2 separate regions of the Homo sapiens genome follow, and region 2 is linked to region 1. Evidence: promoter capture Hi-C in 16 types of primary human blood cells and fetal thymus (Javierre and others, 2016). All regions are on one chromosome and are shown on one strand. The core of a region is centred on a gene start or on the middle of the fragment in contact, and the rest is flanking DNA. Distances in the headings are between cores, read along the strand shown. Region 1 holds the start of RPS12 (ribosomal protein S12). Region 2 overlaps AHI1 (Abelson helper integration site 1).

Region 1 (6,019 bases), core at 3,235-5,734:
AGCCTGGCCAACATGGTGAAACCCCATCTCTGCTAAAAATACAAAAATTAGCTGGGCATGGTGGCATGCGCCTGTAATCCCAGCTACTCTGGAGGCAGAGGTTGCAATGAGTTGAAATCGTGCCACTGCACTCCAGCCTGGGTGACAGAGTGAAGACTGTCTCAAAAAACAAAACAAAAACAACAAAAAAACTTGGGAGATTAACATTCCTTCTGACTTTGGTGTTTTGCAGCTGAGATGACAGTGGACATGGAAACACCAAAACAAAACAAAAAAATCTGAGCCTGGACAATGTGGTGAAACCCCATCTCCACCAAAAAATATGCAACAGGCACTCAAAAATGTCTACATAGATTGGTCATACAAGGAAACTAGAATTCAAAGTGAACTTTCCTCAGAAAAGCCAGAGTACATGAGGTTGACAATTTCAATGTTAACACACAGTTCCAGGTTATACACACTTCAGAAAAAATCTCTCAGAGCTCCTTGCTTTCCATGAGGGTACTCAATGTCACTACCATGCTAAGGTCAACCAGCTTTAGCTATAACTACCAAACCAACCAGTACGGGAGACCCTACTCGGAGATTCTCAATCAAGGTTTAAGACGCAAAGAAAAACCTTGGTATAGTCTTCAAAACCAGGATTGGCCAAGTATATGGCCTCACAACATTCTTTTAACGGTACCTTTATCCAAGTTTAAAATACACCAAACACCAGCCATGGCTTCTCTCACTGCGATTTCTAGGGACTGGGGTGCATTCAAGCCCCTCTCGCTCCTGCACAAAAGGCCAGGAATGGTGGCTCACACTTGTAATCCCAGCACTTTGGAAGGCTGAAGCTGGTGGATCACCTGCTGTCTAAGTTCTAGACCATCCTGGCCAAATATGGTGAAACCCCATCTCTACTAAAAACACAAAAAAATTGCCAGGCATCTGTAATCCTAGCTGCTTGGGAGGCTGAGGCACGAGAATCGCTCGAACCCAGGACAAAGAGGTTGCAGTGAGCCAAGATTGCGCCATTGCACTCCAGCCTGGGCAACAAGAGTGAAACTCCGTCTCCAACCAAAGAAGTCAAACGAATGTCCACAAGCATTCCTGGGTATCATAACACTTGTCCCACATGCAAGATATGATCCTGGCCCAACTGTGTACTTTCTACTAACCTGCCCAGCAAGTCTACTCACTGTCCTTTCATAGACTGCAATCTATTAAAAACACAACCTCTCTCTCCAAATTCTAGGCTAGTCTAGTGAGGGATAAATGCCCATAGCTAAGTAATCCTGGCCATCACCAACACTGCATGGCAGACCTATCTTTGCTAAGGCTGTCCAGGTTTGAATTGCCCCATGATGCAGTCATTGGCTGGGGAGAAGACTTTGAGAGCAAGTTTCCAGTTAATCTGTAGCAATCACTTTGCGATGATTACATTTTACTTTGCTAACAGGGACCTTATTTTACTGCCCCAAATAAAAAGCCAGACATGAGGAATGTGAGCCAAAGATTTATTTCTTCATTTCTTGCATTTGAAATACTCTTCAATGACATCCTTGGCCTGAGACTCCTTGCCATAGTCCTTAAAAAAAACAAAACACGCATGCAATTTCTTGTTAATATTTAGGAATTTCACCAAGCTATTAGTATCAATTATAGTGGAGCTTCAACAATTAGCTATGTCTTATAAAAATGTTTCCCATCACTAAGATTTGTTATAGCCATTCTCAGGGACCTTAACGACTTCAATGTCCTTAAGGCTCGTAACATGGCTTTACTATTGCCAGTTTTTAAAGTATGTCTGCACAAACACAATCAGGTAAGCAGATTCATTGGCTGGCTTGTAAATTACAGCTTTTATTTTTTTCCTGAAATGCAGAAAATGCTTTAAACCTGTTGAATCAGTTTTTTCCTTTTATAAGATCCTCAACTTATTTCAATACAAGGTTTTATATGATTACCCAGCATAACCTTCATCCCTAGAATAAACGGTGACTTACCTTAACTACTACACAACTGCAACCAACCACTTTACGGGGTTTCCCCTCTCTGTCAATTTTACAAAGGCCTACCCATTCTCCTAGTTTCTTGTTGTCATCAACCTATTGGGAGAAAGGTTAAAAAAAAAAAAAATCACATTAATAGACATTAACACTACCAAAATTAAATGAAACCCAAAAGGTGGCTGTAATCAGAAGGGTGACATGGCAGTTTCCTCATGGCAGTTCAGTAGAGGGAGCCAGTTGTCATCATGTACAGCACTAAGATCACCTACAAGCCTGCTACTAATCTTTGTTGTATACCAACGTCAAAATTAGGATTCAATTCTGCAGGTATAAAATGCTTCTACCTACAATCATCTTTAAAATGGCCGACAGTATCAGGTGCACGTAATGTTTACACCTGCACAAAATGAACAGCTTGAGACTTCACAGAATTTACCCCCATATACAAGCATCACTGAACATTAGTCCCAACACAATCCTTAGCAGCCTTACCTTAATTAGGTTGATTTGGTGTTCAGCACAAAGGGCCTCCACCAACTTGACATACATAGGCTCATCACAGTTGGATGCAAGCACACAAAGATGGGCTTGGCGCCTGAAATTCAAATTACAATGAAAATGGAGCTAAAACTCAGATCCAAATCCATCATTCTTGCATTTTAGGAGGGTTATCTTTGCACTAACACTTGCGAAACATAAGCAGCCAATCCACTGAACACATAAATGCGTACAAAATTGCTTGAGTCTGAAGAACCTGCTAGGGAGCATATACATCTTCAATTAACCTACAACTGGTCTTCAGTAAAACCTCTGTCCCTGACACACTGAATTGGTGTAAGTCATTTTTAAAACTTCTGGCCAAAACCCAACCATAATAGCTTTCTTGTAAGCCAGCTTCATATACCTAAAGAAACATGTGAAAGGCCGGGCACGATGGCTCACTCCTGTAATCCCAGCACTTTGGGAAGACGAGGGGGGCAGATGACCCGAGGTCAGGAGTACCAGACCAGCCAGAGACCAACATGGCGAAACCCCGTTTCTACTGAAAGTACAAAAACTAGCTGGGCATGGTGGCGTGTGCCTGTAATTCCATCTACTCGGGAGGCAGAAGAATCGCTTGAACCTGGTAGGTAGAGGTTGCAATGAGATCGCGCCACTGCACTCCAGCCTGGGGGACAGAGCAAGACTCTTTGTCTCAAAAAAAAAAAAGAAAAAAGAAAAAAAAAAGACTGTGGCATTAATGGAACAGTTATGAAATGCCATGCAATAATGCCGAAATAGAAATACAGAAGACTCATACTAGGACCTACTAAATACATTAAACAATAATGCCGTTTCCATCGGATTGAACTGGCTAGATTACACCAAAACGAACTTGTCCTGTAAAACCTTAAAACTGCATTTAAATTCAGCTCAAGAGTAGGTTGATTTGTCAATGCCACCACCCTAAAAAACACATTAACTCGATCCATTCAAATACATTAACAAATATCCCAAATTCAAATAAATCACAGCTATTATACTACTAAATTCATCTAGGACCAAATGCTTCTGAAACCTGAGTTTGAAATTCCATTAAATTAATGCTTGTTTTGCAAACTACCAGATGTAATGTGGCTCTCCATCTCATCTATCTGCCAGATAAGTATAAGACTGACTAGCTCCACAACCTACAGGTTTGTCAGACTCTTATGTTTCACTCATAAAAGGAGTGAAGGGGTATCCGACAATTAAAGTCATCATTCAAACACTGTAGTTTTGAGTGCTTATCCCCATTCCAAACAGCAACCCACACATTTTAAGTGGGCTTTATAGATCTGAGTTCTGATACCTTTTCCTAGGTTTCCGGTAGGACGGATGCCATTCAGAACTTTTGCGCTAACACCATGAACTCCATGCCTTCTTCCCTTGGGTGGCAGTTTTGTTCCGGTTGCAAGAACCCACAGTATTGAGACTGATACACGTACTTGTCTAAGGCTTTGGCAGCTTCGCGAATTCCACGTGCTAGGCCATCGTGGATGAGGGCAGTCTTCAGAACCTCTTGTAAAGCAGTATTAACGTCCATTACACCTCCAGCAGCAATGCTTAAACGCGACACATCAGAACCATCAGTTAAAATCCTCACACCACATAAGGCCTTGCACTCAGCAAAAGCTAAGTGTACAACAGACGCGCTTACGGCGACCCGTTTGACCCAGTCCTGTTCCGCCAGCTCTAGCCCCACGCCTCAGCCGCACCCCGACCCCAACTCCAACCCCGGCCCCTGGGCTCACCCTTCCTCGGCCATGGCGGTGGGTTACGGGTGAAGTTGAATCTTGAACGCACTAAAAAACAAAAGCATTGACTTGTTAAAGAACCAGATACTCGTCACGAATCCCAGCAAGAACGCAACGAGCCACAAATTATAACCAATACACCCCCCTGCCGCCTCGCTCAACTTACCCCAAGCCTCCGCCTCCGCGCGACTCGGCGGCGGCAGGGAAAGAGGCCTCATCCGCACGCATGCCGGTATTTAAGGGTTTTTCAGGTCCCCTGTGCGCATGTGCACTCCCACCCTCGAAAGAGGTGGCTCCCGCAGTGCCGGGCCTGGGGAGTTTCTGTTTCCGGATTGAGGCGGTTCTGAGGCAAACGTACTGCGAGTTTTCTATCTCTGCCAGGCCGGTCCTTGGCGAGTGCAACAGGCACTACGCGGGCAGCTTCGCGTTGTCCTTCTTTGCGGAGGCGTGGCCCACCGAGGCCCAGGGAACTCATTCTACGGAGCGCGACAGAAGCCAAACAAGTGTGTCCGCGTGTTCTTTAAGGCACCTAGAGCCCTGTATCCCGCCGAGCGCCAGTTTTAACCCTTTCCACACCACGTTCTACTTTCCTGTTGCTTCTACAAGACCCAGCCTCCCCAGGCAGCGCACTTTGTTCCTTCGCTTCTAAGTCACCCTGAGAGACCATGTTTGTGTCGTTGTGGGTGTGATCCTCATCTTTGTCTTCATGAAACGAGAGCCTACATGCTTTCACTCTTCCAGGCTGGAGTGCAATGGCGCGATCTCAGCTTACTGCGACCTCCGGCTCCCGGTTTCAAGCGATTCTCCTGCCTCAGCCTCCCGAGTAGCCGGGATTGCAGGCGCCTGCCACCACCCTGGCTAATTTTTTGTATTTTTAGTAAAGACGGGATTTCACCATGTTGGCCAGGCTGGTCTCGAACTCCTGACCTCAGGGGATCCACCCGCCTCGGCCTCCCAAAATGCTGGGATTAGAGGCGTGACCCGCCGCCCCCGGCCGCTTTCACTATTTCTAAGCCCTTTCCCTGCGGTGTGTTGGTAAAGCGGAACCCTGCAGCCAGGGGTCAATTCTAGTTTCTAAGTATAGCGGGAGTCGCTTCTGAACGAAGTTTGTTCTGCTTTGTTTGGTTTTTAACGACGCGTTGTGCTCGGAATACACAGTTCCGCGCAACTCAGAATTCCTCAGGTGCATTTTCAACACCTACAATGTGCCTGACGCAGGGCCAGGTCCTGGGACTACAGACATGAAATATCCAGTCTTTGAGGAGTCCATTTTCTTCCAGGAAGCAATATTTTAAATTTGGAAGTGATTGGCCATTCCCCAATCCCCACTTCCAAACCAAACGCACGAAACACTACTGAATATGATCAATACTGCCTTTGTGTTTAATTTCCTCTCCTGGGTAGTCAGCCGCCAAACCAGTGAGCAATTATTAGGCGCTTGGCACGTGCCAGCGCTGTGAATCCAGTGGGCAGATACTGTTAGACTGGTGAGTGCAGCGAAAAAAACAAAAATGGGTAACGCAGTAAGAGCACCAGGGAGTTCACCAGAACAGAGACCTGCTGTAATGTTAATAAACTGATAGAGTTCAGTTTACTGATAGAGTTCAGTTTTAGATTTTCCGCTGGTTTCAGTTTCATTTTTAAAGCGTTGAAGCTGCTTCTCTGTCAGTAACTCATGCAAATGTTTATTGAGCTTTTGATTTAAAAAAAAAAAAAAAACGAGGAATTTATAAAGATGATTCATTC
Region 2 (6,140 bases), core at 229-2,728, 2.7 Mb before region 1:
ATACATAACTATAAGAGAGCATTGGCTTGGTCCTCCAAAGCTAGCAGTTTGGTGGGAGTTACAGAACATTTTACCAGGGTGAAAATTCAAGGTTGAGGTAGAGGGAGCTACAAAGATTAAGGCACCCTGGAAGCACAGAAGAGAAGTTCTTAAATGCCCTTCAAGGTGAGAATGCTCTCTAGAGAAGATATCATTTGCCTTTAAAGGATAGTGAGGAGTTTGTTAGAGAGACAAAGGAGGAAGCACATTTTTCAGGGGAGGGGATATGTGTGTAATGATACAAAAGCAAGAGAGAACTTGGCACACGTGAAGGCCTGCAGGTAGTTTCACATGTCTGGAACACAGTGGATGTGTGAAGGGGACATTTCATAAATGGCCTTGGACCTCACTGGTAAGGACTTGATATTTTTTTCAATGTGCGATTGGGAGCTAGTGAAGAATTTTAAGCGAAGAAACGACACCATCACATTTGAATTTTAGAAAATTACACTAGTTGCTGTGTAGATGATGATTTTTTTTTTAAGGGAAAGGTGATAGCGGCGTGGAAACAATCTTAAAACAAAAAGCATAATCCTTCCACAGTGTTTTTGTCCCTCAGAGTTACTGTCTCATGTCACTGCCTTTGGGGGTGATGGGAAGACAGTTGGAAGAATTCTGTAAAGAATTGTCTACATGTCCCTTCTACAGGTGTCACCTTCCATTCATTCCTTAGCCCCAGCCTGCTAAGTTTCTGCCCCTCTATAAACAGCTTTGACACACGTGACTTCCTACTTGCAGATTCAGTGGACTTTCTTCAAAACCTCCAGCCCCTTTTGATGCCACACAGTATATAGGCAACATCTCCTTTAAAACTTGGGTTTGCTTCTGTAATGCTTCTATCTCCCAGTTTTTCACCTATCTCCCTGATTTTACTTTATATTGTAGGCTCACAGGATTCTCATTGGCTTTTTATTTTCTTGGAACTATCATATTTATAAATAACTCCCAAATCTTCAGCCTATTGTCTCCCTGCTGGATTAGTAGATTGCCTAACAAACATAATATGATTATATACGTAAACACACACACACGTGACAGTAATAACAGTTGTTGTTTTTGAAGGGCTTGCCATGTGCTAGGCATTGTGCCTAGTATTTTATTTGCATATTCTCATTTAATCTTTATAAAAACACTGTGAGTGATTTACTCTTATTATTGTGAAAGATTAGGAAGTTGATATCCATAGAGGTGAATCTGCTGGCAGATAGAACTGGTATTTGGATCCAAGGATCTGAAAATGGAGCTGATGCTTGTAGCTGCTCAGTGCCCTTCAGATACCCAACTCAACATGACCCATACTAAGCTCAGTGACTGCACCCTAACAACCTGTTACAGTTATAGCTAACATTTATTGTTGCTTCTTCTGTCTACGGTACTGTTCTAAATCATTTAACCCTTACAACAACCCTTTGAGTCGGCACTGGTAGGGTGTTTTTATAGATGAGGAAACAAAAGTCACGCAAGTGACTATGGAAACTAATTCTAGGACATGGATTTTAAACTACTGCCCTGTACTGCATTATATTACAGTGTAATGATACTACTAATCTACTTATTCTAGTTCTAGAAACATGGGAATTATCTCCGATTCTTTCTCCTGCCTCTTCATTAGTTATTTAATCTTTCTAAAATATTACCTCACTCCATCACCTGGAGCGCACTGGTGCAGTCTTGGCTCCCTGCAACCTCCACATTTCAGGTTCAAGCGATTTTCCTGCCTCAGCCTCCCCAGTAGCTGGGATTACAGGCACCCACCACCACGCCTGACTAAGTTTTGTATTTTTGGTAGAGATGGGGTTTTACCATGTTGGCCAGACAGGACACAAACTCCTGACCTCAAGTGATCCACCCGCCTTATCCTTCCCAAGTATTGGGATTACAGACATGAGCCACGGCGCCCAGCAGGCTTTTTTTTGATGAATCATAGTCATAATATAGGTCAGCTTTTTCCTGGCCTATTAGATGACCATCGAGTAGTATAAATATTAAATTTTTATTTGTTTTATGATTTTTCTACTTCCGTGCTCTCAGGTTTCAATTACTCATGCTGTCATTGCACTTGCCTTTGCAGCTTCTCTTTTCTAATTTAATATAGACTAGAAAGTAGAAGACTAGATTTATTAAATTTATAACTGCTAGAAGGAGTAAATACAGGCTCCTATCACTAAAGTATAGGAATTTTTACTCCATGGATTTAGTGATGTCTGTTTTGACTGGGTGCCACGTAGTTGTTGCCTAAGTTAACTGACATAGTTAGGTATGTTTACATAATCATTCCTTTCTTTTTAGAATTTCTTAGACATTTCTGCAAGAGGAACATGAATGTGGATGTCCAGGGAATTGGAGCATTAACCAATAATGCCTTGGGCCCAGTGTGGTGGCTCACGCCTGTAATCCCAACACTTTGGGAGGCTGAGTCGGGCAGATCATATGAGGTCAGGAGTTCAAGACCAGCCTGGCCAACATGATGAAACCCTGTCTCTACTAAAAATACAAAAATTAGCTGGGTGTGGTGGCGCACACCTGTAATCCCAGCCACTCGGGAGGCTGAGGCAGGAGAATCGCTTGAACCTGGGAGGCGGAGGTTGCAGTGAGCCGAGATCACACCACTGCACTCGACAAAGGGAGACTCCATCTCAAAAACAAACAAATCAATAATTCCTGAACCAGCTTTTTTTTTAACACTCTTCAGTTTTAGTCTCAAAAACATGCATATTACATTCTAAATGTTCTAATGTGAGAATATGTTCATTTTAGACATACACCGATTTTTTTAATAAAATGGGCAATTTAGTAATATACATACTGAGTTGAACCATGGTTTTGAGTAGTTCTGACACAGTAATACACATCCAGGTTTTATTAAAGAAAGATGGTGCAAATATTTGTACTATCCTTCTCTATTGTAGCAGAATTTTCAGTGGCAGACACAGAGGTATTTAAATTCACTGTGAGTGTGCTACCCACAAGCATGCTTTAATGTAATATTGAATGCTCTTAGGAAAGTCAATCCTGAGATGGAGTTTGGTTTCTTAAAAGTGCGTTGAAATGTTCATTAATGTATTAAAACACTTTAAAAAGTTTATTAACATACCACATTAGATGTGCACTGCCTTCAAAATGTTTTTTTTGTTTCAAATATATAAATACTTTATTCAGATATGATCTAGTTTGTTTCCCTTGATTTTAGAGCCCTAAACTGATTCAAATGTACCCAAGTCATTTGCATAAGATTGGGTTAAGGGAACATAGCTTTATTGGTATAAACTTAATGAAGTAGTGGACATACAATGGCATGATCTTGTGTGAAGAACGTTTTATAATTTTTATTTGGAAGTTCCATATTACAAATACATCTCCTTTGTTTCGATAGGATCCTGATTGAGTCAATGCTTTGCATTCTCAGTCCTCTGCATAAAGCTGAGAGATGCCTACAGGTAAGACTTCTATGAAATTTATGTATAAAATTTATATTTTATACATTTACTTTTAAGTTTGGTTTATTTTAAGGGATTCTTGAACAGATTAATGAATACAGTAGATGTCATTGACCAAATATACTACATTTAGAGATACTTATTGGTTTTGTATTCAGTTTTCTATTTAATATTGTGATTAAGGTTAGTATGTATTTAATGGATGGTAGTTTGGGACTCAGATGGACAAGGTAAATAATGATTACAACATAGGGTTAGTTTTTATTCTTTATCATCAAAATTGAATGTTTTACTCCACCACAAGCATTGGCAATCTTTTCTAAAAGGGCTAGCTAGTAAATATTTTAGGCTTAGTCTCTGCTATAACTGCTCAACTCTGTCTCTCTGTCTCTTTTAAAGCATGAAAGCAGTTATAACAATTCTTAATCAAATGGGTATGTCTGATTTCAATAAATCTTTACAAAAACAAGTGACTAGCCTGCAGGCCATAGTTTGCCGACACTTGCTCTAGAGCACCCATTCATTCAGCATTTATTAATTTAAAACATAATGACTATGTACACTATGTCAGACCTCATAATAGTAGCTGGGGATGTAGTTATGGGGGAAACAGAAAATATGTTTCTTTATATAGATATAAAAATAATTATATAATTTCCATTTGGGTTGAGTGCTGTGAAGGAAGAGAACAACCTGCTATGTGAGAAAAGGGAAAATTAGATGAGTTTGTCAGGAGGTGTTTTATTTACAGGCAGCATTTAAACAGACAGGTTAACACCAGCCAGGTGAGGAATTAGAGGAAGCTTGCCTCAGAAACAGCTTCATGTGGGAAGGAGCTTGCTGTGACGGAGGAGCTAAAGGAAGGGTATTATAGCTAGAACATAGGCATCTAAGGGGATATTTGTCTTGATTTGAAGCCCTGGAGATAGATCAGGAGGTATGGAGCCCTGTAGGGCATATAAAAGACTTATTTTATCCTAAATGTATTGGGAAATTTTCAGGGGCTTAAGCATTATCTTCTTCATGTTTTAAAGGAAAAACCTGTTAATATTTGTGGAATACTGATTACAGGCTAGGCACACCTTAGCCATTTTTCATGCAAAATGATCTTTGGCATAAGATAATTGTGATTTTACAGATAAGGAAAATGAAGTTTAGAGATCTTGAGTAACTTGTCTAAAGCCACATAACACGTAACTAACAGTGGTAGATGCTACTGTTTATCAGAAATAAAAAGTTAACTTAGCAAAGGAGACTTTTAGAGTGAGTGGCCAAAAAGGTCAGAGGGATACAGGTGAATGTTGTGTCACTAAAGTCAAAATAAAAAATATTTTAAGAAGGAAAGATAGGTGAGTTTTTCTAATGTAGCTAGAGAACTCATGCCGATATTTACAAGAACTTATTTCTTAACATCCTAGTAGTGTAGGTTGTGTGTTATGATAGAGTCATTTACAAAATCACATGGCTGTATCTTTTGTAGCTGAGAGTGAAGCAAAAGTAAAAACCAAAGTTCGCTTTGAAGAATTGCTTAAGACCCACAGTGATCTAATGCGTGAAAAGAAAAAACTGAAGAAAAAACTTGTCAGGTCTGAAGAAAACATCTCAGTAAGTAAATGATCATTGGGTAATAGTGATTTACATATGCGCATAAAATGCAGATATGGCTGCATTTTATGTTAAAATTCTAAGGAATTTTGAAAATTAAAAACAGTAACACTATGTCATGGTCAATAACATGTGGTAAAAATAAAGTTTATATTAGAATCAACATCACTGTGAGAATATTGACTTCATTCTTGAGTGCTGTCCTACAGGAAGAACACACACACAGTGGGGAAAATGACCAGAGATAGTGGGGAAACTCAAAACTAGCCATGATAACATTTTTGAAGAAAATATTTTTAACCCAGAATTGTGAAGAACTTAGGAAGTAGTATCTTAACTTCAGATATTGAATAGCTTGTGCTTATTTAAACTATTTCTGTGTGATTCTACCCAACAGAACCAGGAGAAATCAATGGCCGTATGGTAATAATTATCCTTTTATGTTTGAGGCACACTTTCAAATGATAGAATCTTTGGCAGCACACTTGAAGGAATTAAAAATACAGTGCTCAAAGACTAAGCAAATCAGCAACTAACTACAACCTGATCCCCTTGGAATCATAAAGAGTCTGTATTGGCATCCACAGTTAATGCTCTATGCCCTCTTTATACCTATCTCCCTACTTGAGTTGCACTTTTTACTACTTTGACCATTATCTCTTCTGTCCTCACAGAAAAAAATAAACAGGCTCTTGTGTAAATGGTACATAGTTTTTTTTTTTTTTTTGGCAGGAGTTTTATAATGAGTTATAATCCTACATTTTGCTTGTAGTAAGATTTACCCCATTTTTTCTTAAGACCTGTTCATTTTAGTATTCTGTCTGGCAGATGTCAATGTAACAATATAAATTCTGAAGTGAGGCAAAAACAAGTAGTAAAATTGACCAAAATCCAGCTGCACATATGTGAGGGTTCATAGTGTATACACTGGTGTACGACTGCACAAAAATTTCGAACTACTGACAGAATGGACAGATTAGCACTCCCATAGTGATTGCTGCTCTGAAATAGCATGTGCTTTTTCTGGTGGTACTAGTGCACAATATGGTAGGGAATAGT

What was found. Contacts are between HindIII fragments. The CHiCAGO score rates a contact against its expected background, and 5 or more counts as called.
Region 2: a fragment that was not itself captured here is called in contact with the fragment with the promoter of RPS12 in region 1 in 1 of 17 cell types (non-activated CD4 T cells); the score reaches 5.9 in non-activated CD4 T cells.

The regions. Positions count from the first base shown.
Region 1 is chr6:132,813,034-132,819,052 of GRCh38, reverse strand. It overlaps RPS12 (ribosomal protein S12), which reads right to left and starts at 4,484. Exons shown (of 6, transcript NM_001016.4): 1 at 4,440-4,484; 2 at 4,271-4,321; 3 at 3,965-4,081; 4 at 2,490-2,592; 5 at 1,992-2,093; 6 at 1,489-1,573. The coding sequence starts at 4,284. The coding sequence ends at 1,511. It overlaps SNORD101 (small nucleolar RNA, C/D box 101), which reads right to left and starts at 3,746; the gene lies at 3,674-3,746. LOC107986644 (a long non-coding RNA gene) reads left to right here and starts at 4,765. Exons shown (of 3, transcript XR_001744345.3): 1 at 4,765-5,760. SNORD100 (small nucleolar RNA, C/D box 100) reads right to left here and starts at 2,251; the gene lies at 2,176-2,251. It also overlaps SNORA33. RefSeq lists enhancers at 4,019-4,148, 4,579-4,858, 4,773-5,519, 5,949-6,018. The HindIII fragment of the contact is 13,401 bases long and covers 1-6,019 here.
Region 2 is chr6:135,489,564-135,495,703 of GRCh38, reverse strand. AHI1 (Abelson helper integration site 1) reads left to right here. Exons shown (of 29, transcript NM_001134831.2): 4 at 3,413-3,476; 5 at 4,957-5,081. The coding sequence starts at 3,467. Among named protein-coding and RNA genes, the nearest start is that of AHI1, 5.1 kb to the left of the region's middle. The HindIII fragment of the contact is 5,606 bases long and covers 1-4,281 here.